Regions from separate parts of the Homo sapiens genome. Here region 1 is linked to region 2. The links are contacts of gene promoters, found by promoter capture Hi-C in human tissues and cell types (Jung and others, 2019). All regions are on one chromosome and are shown on one strand. The core of a region is centred on a gene start or on the middle of the fragment in contact, and the rest is flanking DNA. Distances in the headings are between cores, read along the strand shown. Region 1 overlaps WDTC1 (WD and tetratricopeptide repeats 1). Region 2 holds the start of GPATCH3 (G-patch domain containing 3).

The links. Contacts are between HindIII fragments. The study calls those that stand out against the background at their distance.
Region 1: a fragment that was not itself captured here is called in contact with the fragment with the promoter of GPATCH3 in region 2 in 1 of the 25 tissues and cell types used here (IMR-90 fibroblasts).

The regions. Positions count from the first base shown.
Region 1 is chr1:27,243,567-27,248,973 of GRCh38, forward strand. The region is part of intron 1 of WDTC1 (WD and tetratricopeptide repeats 1); the gene reads left to right. Among named protein-coding and RNA genes, the nearest start is that of WDTC1, 12 kb to the left of the region's middle. The HindIII fragment of the contact is 4,284 bases long and covers 1-3,646 here.
Region 2 is chr1:26,898,924-26,904,150 of GRCh38, forward strand. It overlaps GPATCH3 (G-patch domain containing 3), which reads right to left and starts at 1,544. Exons shown (of 7, transcript NM_022078.3): 1 at 1,069-1,544. The coding sequence starts at 1,519. It also overlaps a transcript of NUDC not described here. RefSeq lists an enhancer at 1,489-1,608. The HindIII fragment of the contact is 3,671 bases long and covers 152-3,822 here.

The DNA.
Region 1 (5,407 bases), core at 255-2,754, 340 kb after region 2:
TTGACTCTCTGTCTAAGAACTGTGTAGCTTTGGCAACTTCACTTTTCTGTGCCTCAGATCCTGCATCTGTAAGATGAGGATAACAATAGCACCTGTCTCATAGGATTATTATGAGGAGTCTGTGAGATGACACTTGTAAACTGTTAGAATGTTCAATAAATATTATTTAATAGGATCAGTGTCAGGCATTTTACATGCAAGCGCTTCTGTTCCTCCTCACCCTGCAGAGGTAGGTATTATCAGATTAGGAAACTAAGGTTTAGAAGTGTCAAGTCAGGGTCTGGCATGGTGACTCATGCCTATAATCCCAACACTTTGGGAGGCTGAGGTGGGCAGATCGCTTGAGCCCAGGAGTTCGAGACCAGCCTGGGCAGCATGGTGAAACCCCATCTCTACAAAAAAAAAAAAAAAAAATGCAAAAATTAGCCAGGTGTGTGTGGGTGGTGCATGCCCGTGGTCCCAACTACTCGGGAGGCTGATGAGATGGGAGGATCTCTTGGGCCCGGGAGGCAGAGGTTGCAGTGAGCTGAGATCATGCTACCACACTCCAGCCTGGGTGACAGAGCCAGACCCTGTCTCAAAACAAATAAAAATTTTTTTAAAAAAATTAAAAAGATGAAGAGACGTAAGAGGTATAGAAAAGAAAAAAAAATTTAAAAGAAATGTCAAGTCAGACAGAAAATAGGTGTCAGAACTGGGATTTGAACCTAAGATCTGTTAGGTCCACAGCTACACTCTTCATTTTATTATGCTCTTTCTTTCTTTTGTTTTGTTTTGTTTTTGAGACAGCGCCTCACTTTGTCACACGGGCTGGAGTGCAGAGGCACAATCATAGCTCAATATAGCCTCAAACTCCTGGGCTCAAGCAATTCTCCCTCCTCCCTCCTGCCTCAGCCTTCCTAGTAGCTAGGACTACAGGAGTGTGCCACCATGCCTGGCTAATTTTTAAAAAACTTTTTTATAGAGACAGGATCTTACTCTGTTGCCCAGACTGCTCTCGACCTCCCGGCCTTCAAGTGATCCTCCTGCCTCGGTCTCCCAAAGCACTGAGATTACAGGCATGAGCTACCACACCTGGCCTTATGTTATTTCCAATGACCTTTATGCATTGAAAGTGAAGTTGAGTCCTTGCTTCGTTGCATCTTTCATCTTTTTTGTAGGATTGCTCCAATAGAACCACTATAAATAGAGTGAAAGGAAACTTGCATACATCTTTGCATAATTCAGAATGTTGAAAGGGGGTCAGTTGTCACCCTGGTTGGGGGCACGTCTCTGCTATGGGAGGTAGCATGTCCAGAGGAAAGAGAATACAGATGTTTTAGGTTCCATCTCTGGTCTGCTGCTAACCAGTAGTGTCTACTTAAAATCTCAGCATAGTGTCATCGGAAGGGGTTTTGTAGCTTATCTCAGAGTCCACCTCTCATTTTACAAACGGCAGAATAGACTGAGAGAGCAAAATGCCTCACTCAGGGTCATACAGCCAGTTAAAGGCAGAGGCTGGCTTGGAGCACAAGACCCTAGATCTCCCAGTCCAGTGCTTCTTCCTCAGTACCATGTAGTATTCTGCTTCACTTCTCCCTTGTTAAATGGGGATTATTATCGTACATGAATATTCATAGCAGCATTATTCATAGCAGCGTTATATTAGCTTTCTAACTTCCTAAAAGGATTGTTGCAAAGTTCAAATTAAAAGCTTGAACAAAAGTGCTTTGATAGGTATAAAACATTGTGTGTAAGGCAGTCATGCCATTATTCATTCAGCAAATATTTATTGGTGCCTGCTAAGCTTACATCACTCCTGGAAGACCAGTGGGATCAATGGATGAATCGGATGAAGAGCAGGCCCTCAGCATGCTTTTAATCTTCTAAGAAAGAGAAGCCACGTAAATAACCACAGCTCAAGGTAGGAGACAGATGAAGGAAAGGCTAAGAATGGAATTTTCTTTCCATAACCTGTGATTTTGAGGTAGAGAAAAGAAAGGGTTTTTTTTGGTTTTTTTTTTTTGTTTGTTTGTATTTTTGAGACAGAGTCTTGCCCTGTCACCCAGGGTGGAGTGCAATGGCGCAATCTCGGCTCACTGCAACCTCCGCCTCCCGGGTTCAGACGATTCTCCTGCCTCAGCTTCCCGAGTAGCTGGGATTATAGGTGCCTGCCACCATGCACAGCTAATTTCTGTATTTTTAGTAGAGACGAGCTTTCACCATGTTGGCCAGGCTGGTCTCGAACTCCTGACCTCCTGGTCCACCCGCCTTGGCCTCCCAGAAAGTGCTGGGATTACAGGCATGAGCCACTGTAATCCTATGGGACATGCTATGGGAGGTAGCATGTCCAGAGGAAAGAGAATACAGATGTTTTAGGTTCCATCTCTGGTCTGCTGCTAACCAGTAGTGTCTACTTAAAATCTCAGCATAGTGTCATCGGAAGGGGTTTTGTAGCTTATCTCAGAGTCCACCTCTCATTTTACAAACGGCAGAATAGACTGAGAGAGCAAAGGGTTTAAGGTATTTCTTCTTTATTGACATATAATTCACGTACCATAAAATAGACAGTCTCTTAAATTATACAATTCATTGGTTTTAATATAGTCACAAAGTTGTGCAACTTGTCACCACTATCTAATTCCAAAACATTTTCATCACCTAAAAAAGAAACACATACCCTTGAGCTATCACATTCCTCCCCAACACTCCCATCTCTTTCTGTCTCTGTAGGTTTTCCTATTCTTGACATTTCACATAAATAGAACCATACGACATGTAGTCTTTTGTGACTGGCTTCCTTCACTTAGCAGAATGTTTTGAAGTTTCTTCCATGTTGTTGTATGAATTAGTACCTCATTCCTTTTTATGGCTGCATAATATTCCATTACAGTGGATATTAACACATTATATTTATTCATCAATTGATGGCCATTTGGGTTGTTTCTAATTTGGGCTATTATGAATAATGCTGCTCTGAGTATTCATGTACAGCTTTTTGTATGGACATGTGTTTTCTTTCCTTTTTTTTTTTTAGACTGAGTCTTGCTTTGTCACTCAGGCTGGAGTGCAATGGCACGATCTGGGCTTACTGCAACCTCCGCCTTCCAGGTTTAAGCGATTCTTCTGCCTCAGCCTCCTGAGTAGCTGGGATTACAGGTGCCCGCCACCACGCCCGGCTAATTTTTGTATTTTTAGTAGAGATGGGGTTTCACCATGTTGGCCAGGCTGGTCTTGAACTCCTGACCTCAGGTGATCTGCCCACCTCGGCCTCCCAAAGTGCTGGGATTACAGGCGTGAGCCACCACGCCCAGCCATTTTTTTTTTTTTTTTTTTTTCGAAACAGGGTCTCACTCTGTCACCCAGCCTGGAGTCCAGTGCCACAAACATAGCTCACTGCAGCCTCAAACTCCTGGGCCTAAGTAATCCTCCTACCTCGGACTCCCAAAGTGCTGGGATTACAGACGTGAGCCACCGCACCCAGCCTATTTCTGCATTATTATTTATTTAATTAATTAAACTTTTTTTTGAGACAGAGTCTCCCTCTGTTGCCCAGGCTGGAGCAGAGTGGCATGATCTCAGCTCACTGCAACCTCTGCCTCCTGGGTTTAAGCGATTCTCCTGCCTCAGCCTCTCGAGTAGCTGGGATTACAGGTGCCTGCCACCACGCCTGGCTAATTTTTGTATTTTTAGTAGAGACGAGGTTTTACCACGTTGGCTAGGCTGGTCTTGAACTTCTGACCTTAAGTGATCCACCTGCCTCAGCCTCCCAAAATGCTGGGATTAGAGATGTGAGCCACTGTGCCCAGCCTTGTGCAGGTTTTTTATACAGGTAAACTCATGTCATGGTGGTTTGTTGTGCAGATTATTTTGTTACCCAGGTACTAAGCCTAGTACTCAATAGTTATTTTTTCTGATCCTCTTCCTCTTCCCACCCTCCACCCTCAAGTAGGTTCCAGTGTCTGTTGTTCCCTTCTTTGTGTCCATGAAGTCTCATCATTTAGCTTCCACTTACAAGTTAGAACATGCCATATTTGGTTTTCTGTTTCTGCTTTAGTTTGCTGAGGATAATGGCCTCCGGCTCCATTCATGTTCCTGCAAAGGATATGATCTCATTCTTATGGCTGCATGGTCATTCCATGGTGTACATGTACCACATTTTCTTTCTTTTTTTTTTTTTTTTTCTTTGTGAGATGGAGTTTCACTCTTGTTGCCCAGCCTGGAGTGCAATGGCGTAGTCTCAGCTCACTACAACCTCTGCCTCCCGGGTTCAAGTGATTCTCCTGCCTCAGCCTCCCAAGTAGCTGGGATTATAGGCACCTGACACCATGCCTGCCTAATTTTATAGTGTTAGTAGAGACGGGGTTTCTCCACGTTGGCCAGGCTGGTCTTGAACTGCTGACCTCAGGTGATCTGCCCGCCTCGGCCTCCCAAAGTGCTGGGATTACAGGCGTGAGCCACTGTGCCCAGCCTGTACCACATCTTCTTTATCCCATCTGCTGTTGATGAGCATTTAGGTTGATTCCATGTCTTGCTTATTGTGAATAGTGCCACAATTAACATACTGCACAGTGTGTGTGTCTTTATGGTGAAACTATTTATATTCCTTTGGGTATATACCCAGTAATAGGATTGCTAGGGCAAATGGTAGTTCTGTTTTTAGCTCTTTGAGGAATCTTCACACTGCTTTCCACAATGGTTGAACTAATTTACACTCCCACTAACAGTGTAAAAGTGTTGCCTTTTCTCTGCAACCTCACCAGCATCTGTTATTTTTTGACTTTTTAATAATAGCTATCCTGACTAGTGTGAGATGGTATCTCATTGTGGTTTTGACTTGGATTTCTCTATTGATCAGTGATACTGAGCTTTTTTTCATATGCTTGTTGGCCACATGTATGTCTTCTTTTGAAAAGTGTCTGTTCATGTCCTTTGCCCACTTGATGGGATTGTTTTTTTCTTACACATTTGTTTAAGTTCCTTATAGATGCTGGATATTAGACCTTTGTCAGATGCATAGTTTGCAAGTATTTTCTCCCATCCTATAGGTTGTCTGTTAATGATACACTTTAAAATGATTAGTTTCATCTTATGTGAATTTCACTTAAAAACTTTTTATTATTATTTTTTTTTATTCAGAGTCTTGCCCTGTCTCCCAGGCTGGAGTGCAGTGGTGTGATCTTGGCTCACTGTAGCCGAAACCTCCTGGGCTCAAGCAGTCCTCCCACCTCAGCCTCCCAAGTAGCTGGGACTGTAGGTGTGCCACCACGCCCAGCTAATTTTTTAACTTTTTTTAGAGACAGGGTTTCACCATGTTTCCCAGCTGGTCCCAAACTCCTGGGCTCAAGCAATCTTCCCACATTGGTCTCCCAAAGTGCTGGGATTATAGACGTGAGCCACTGCACCCAGCCTTAAATTTTTTAAAAAG
Region 2 (5,227 bases), core at 294-2,793:
CAAAGTGCTGGGATTACAGGCACGAGCCATTGCAACCCAGCCCACAATGAACAATTTAACATGCCCTGAAAGTTTTTCACGGGCTTTCAAAGCTGTGTCTTTGCAAACGCCATTTACCCTGAAACCCAGAAACACCATTCTCTCCTATTAACTCCTATTTATTTTTCAAGACCCAGATGGAAAGCCACATTTCATGATCCATCTAGGAAGTTAGTTTCTCCCTTCTCTGTCATCTCACAGCACTTGGTGATAAACAGTATAGGCTCTGGAACAGATGCCTAGGTTTGTTGTAGCTCTGACACTAACTAACTCTGTAACCTCAGGCAAGTCACATAACTTCGGCTTCCCTCAGTTTCTTCACCTATGAAATGGGAGAAACAACAGCTCCTATCTCATAGGACTGTTGAGAGGGGTAAGAAAACAAAAGGCTTAGAACAGCGCCTACTAAATACAGAGTGCTCAGTGAATGCTAACAATTAGAATGACATCTCTGTGGCAATAACCTTTTTCCAAATGTCTTCCTTTGTGGATTCTGAGCACACACTATGTCCAACTGTTCTCTGCATACCCAGCTAGTCACACTAGGTCTAGCAATGTAAGCATTTGTTGAATGTGTGAACTGGAGGGCTCTGCACTGTCCTGTTTCCCCATCAAACTGATTTCCCATGAAAGTGGGAGCTGTCCAGAGAAAAGATTGTCTCTTCATTTGTATCTTACTGAAAGGACTGGGTAGGAAGCACAGAGAGAGCAGGAGAGAAAGACAGTAAAAGGGTTAGAGACTGGATTTCCTTTTTTCTTTCTGTGTTAGTGCAAAATCAACCCCTTGGATAGAGAAAGGGTCTCAAAAGGGACCTAACAAAATGAAGGCTCTTCCGAATAAGCCTCTCCGGTTTATTTTTCTCCATGTATTGGACTAACTCCCTGCAAGTTGAGCCTGAAGCTCTGTCTAGAATATGAACTAAACTCATAGAGTCCTAACCAGAGGCCTGACTTATCCTCACCACTCCTCTGAAAAGGTGCCTCTGTTCCAGGCCCGTAGGCCCAGTCTATTAACTTTCTCACTCTTACCTGATGCCTCCGTAGGTAGCCGAAGTCTGCGGATGAGACAGCGACCCGGTAGCCAAGTCCCGTGAGAATCCAGCCACCGGCGGCCCGAGTACATGCGAATAAGCCTCTGAGCTTGAGCCAACCCCCTTACCGAGATGACGCAGCAGCAGGTGCGGGTCTGGATTGGAGTAGAGTCTCGAGTGGAGAGAGGCCGGACATCGGTGGCCGAAGTCTGAGAGAGAAGCTGGCCCTCAGCGGCTGGGTCGGTAGGAATTAGGGCAGAGTTAGGAGCGGCCTGCGGAGGGGCCCGCTCAGGCCGATGCCGGTAGTGGAAACAGAGGAAGCCACCGCCGCGCTCTTCTCGGAACTGGCTAAAATAGCTCCGTAAATGGGCCGAGCGCAACACGGAGGGGATACCGCTCACTACCAGGTAAACTGTCGCCTCCTCCTCCGCCTCGCCGGGCACCGCCATCTTGGATTGTCACATGATCAGCTAGAACCAAGTCTCGCGAGAACACCGCGAGCAACGTTCCAGCCCCTGCGTTGCGAGATTGTGAAAATTCTAACTAGTCCTTTGGGATTGGGGTTGTGGAACCTGGAGCTGGAAGATCCGAAGTCTTCTGTGTTCCTTTCCCACAGAGGGAAGCCGGCGATGATGGAAAAACTCACCTGGAAAATGGGGTCATAGAGTTCTTTCATAAAGCTCTCATGAGGACCAAATAAGAAGCCTGCGGGAGGGGTCATTTTTGAGGTATTTAGTTGTGGATATTGCACACCTAATCTCAACCTTCCTCAGTTCTGAACCTTTAGTCGTTCTTCCATTTATTTTTCCAAAATGTGTTGATGAACTCCCACAAATCGGTAAGAAAAAGATAACCCGGTAGAAAAATGGGCCGAAGATACTTCGCAAAAGAGGAAACACGCAGGTCCAATTTACAATGAAAGTGCTATGAGTTACTAGAGGCTTACGTTAAAGAAAAGATGCACAACTCAATAATAAAAGAAATGCAGCGAGACCCACTTTGCATCCACTATGTTGGCAAACTTTAAAACCTTAGAGTCGATGACAACATGGTGGAACTGAAGCTCTCATACACTGTTGGTGGAAATGTAAGTTGATACAACCACTTTGGGAAACAATTGGCGTTATCTAGTAAAAGCAAAGCTACACATCATTTGACTCAGCACTTGTAGGTAATATTTTATTTATTTTTGAGTTGGGGTCTCGCTCTGTCGCCCAGGCTGGAGTGCTGGGACCACAGATGCAACCCACTATGCCTGGCTAATTTTTTAAACTATTTGTAGAGATGGGGTCTCACTGCATTGCCCAGGCTGGTATTGAACTCCAGGGCTCAAGTGATCCACTGGCCTCAGCCTCCCAAAGTGTTAGGATTACAGGTGTGAGCCACGGTCCCCGCCTTTTTGTCTTTTTTTTTTTTTTTTTTTTTTTTTGAGATGGAGCCTCGCTCTGTCATCCAGGCTGGAGTGCAATGGTGCGATCTCGGCTCACTGCAACCTCCGCCTCCCGGGTTCAAGCAATTCTCCTGTCTCAGCCTCCCGAGTAGCTGGGACTACAGGTGCGTGCCACCACGCCCGGCTAATTTTTGTATTTTTAGTAGAGACGGGGTTTCACCATATTGGTCAGGCTGGTCTCGAACTCCTGACCTCAGGTGATCCACCCGCCTTGGCCTCCCAAAGTGCTGAGATTACAGATGTAAGCCACCGCACCCGGCCCTCTTTGTACGTTTTTTAATTGGGTTATTTGATTACTATTGATTCATTGATTCATAATTCAGACAAAGTCTACACATTATACTGGGTGATAGGAGGAACCTGTAGATTGAGAGACCTCAAACAAAAGCAAAAAATAAAGGGCCAAGCTCAGTGGTTCACGCCTGTAATCCCAGCACTTTGGCAAGCTGGTGTAGGAGGATCCCTTGAGCTTAGAAGTTTGAGACCAGCCTGGCCAAGTTGGCAAGACCCTTGTCTAAACAATAAAAAAAATGACTGCACATGTTTATCAGAAGACTTATTGATAATGTTGACTTTTACCCAAGCCCTGTGATCCTGGAAAACTAAGGCTTAAGAAATGCCTTCCCACTGTTTTGTGTTCTGGAACACAGCATATTGCAAAAAAACATCCTTCCCCAAGTGAGTTAGGTAAGACTGGTGTATGCCCCTCTGGTTCACCAATGACAAAGCCAGACACAGACTCCATATTCCAAATCTCCTCATGAAAGCTTTGAGGAACTTCTTGTCCCCACTGATCAGTTGGAACAAACTTTGGTTAAAACTTCTCTCCTTCCCCCAGCTTCCCGAACTTTGGCTTACCCTCAGCTTGAGCCAGCGCACATCTCCTCCTTAACAGCCTCTCCTGAGAATAGGCTGGCTTCAAGGTAAAGCATTATCTGATCTACTGTCCCATCATGCCACTCCTGATCATCCCACTTCCTCCCACCCAGTTCTGCCCTGTTTACTCCTCTGTATGAGAGAAGAACCCTTTTTGCCTAACCCTTGAGTCACTTGCAGATATTATGGTCAGAGGGTCCTCCCTGCTGCAATATTCTTCCTCCTTCTATTGCAATAGTTCCTTTCTTCCCTTGCAATAATCCTTTCAAATAAAATCTCTCCTGGCAGGGTGTGGTAACTCACACCTGTAATCTTAGCACGTCGGGAGGTTGAGGTCGGAGGATCACTTGAGCCCAAGAGAGCAAGGCTGCAGTGAGCCATGATTGTGCCATGCATTCGGTGGGCAGCAGAATGAGAATCTGTCTCAAAAAAAAAAAAAATTATAATGGCTGGGCGCAGTGGCTAATGCCTGTAATCCCAGCACTTTGGGAGGCTGAGGTGGGCGGATCACTTGAGGTCCAGAGTTCGAGACCAGCCTGGCCAACATGGTGAAACCCCGTCTCTACTAAAAATACAAAAATTAGCCACTCATGGTGGTATGCGCCTGTAATCTCAGCTCCTCAGGGAAGCTGAGGCACGAGAATCGCTTGAACCCAGGAGGCGGAGGTTGCAGTGAGCTGAGATCACACCACTGCACACTCCATCCTGGGCAACAGAGCGAGACTCTGTCTCAAAAAAAAAAAAATTATAATAAAATCTCTCCTTACCAAGCCTGGATTTGTTTTTTATTTCACAGTATATATAAATATTCATAGCTACAGTCTTTTTAAGTGCAAAAAGCTGGCTTTTTGTACTAATAATCTCAGTTAAAGCCAGTCAGAAAACACAGAATTGTTTTATTTATGCAAAGTTCCAAAAATGCAAACTAAAAAATATTCTTAGGGCTACATAAATAAATAAGCTTTAAAATCAGGAAGAAAAGCAAATAAATGATTAACATAAAATCCAGGGTAGTTGTTACCTTTGGAGGGAAATGATAGATTTAGAAAGGGACTTCAAAGTTAATGGTAATAATGACCTATGAAACAATAGAGTTCATTCTGTTATTCTTTATACTTTACACATATTTATTAATATTATTTTGTTTTACTCAATGTTTAAAATGTAAAAATATTAAAAGTGAAAATAACTCATTTCAGAAAGCAATAGTTACCTTGTGATAGCAAATATACAGCTATATGATGAATTTTAAAAATTGGAAAACATGGCCAGGCATGGTGGCTCATGCTTCTAATCCCATCGCTTTGAGAGGCCGAGGCAGAAGGATTGCTTGAGGCCAGGAGTTGGAGACCAGCCTGGGCAACATAGTGAGACCCTGTCTCTACAAAAAATAATAAAAATAAAAAATAAGCCGGGCGCGGTGGCTCACACCTGTAATTCCAGCACTTTGGGAGGCCGAGGTGGGCGGATCACAAGGTCAGGAGATTGAGACCATCCTGGCTAACACGGTGAAACCCCATCTCTACTAAAAATACAAAAAAATTAGCTGGGCGTGGTGGCGGGCACCTGTAGTCCCAGCTACTCGGGAGGCTGAGGCAGGAGAATGGTGTGAACCCGGGAGGCGGAGCTTGCAGTGAGCCGAGATCGCGCCACTGCACTCCAGCCTGGGTGACAGAGCAAGACTCCGTCTCAAAATAAATAAATAAATAAATAAATTAAATAAATAAATAATAAATAAATAAATAAAAATACAAAAATAAAAATAAAAAAGTCTAATGAGTGAGAAATTGTAGATAGGACCATTATATCTAGGTTTAAACCCACATCATAT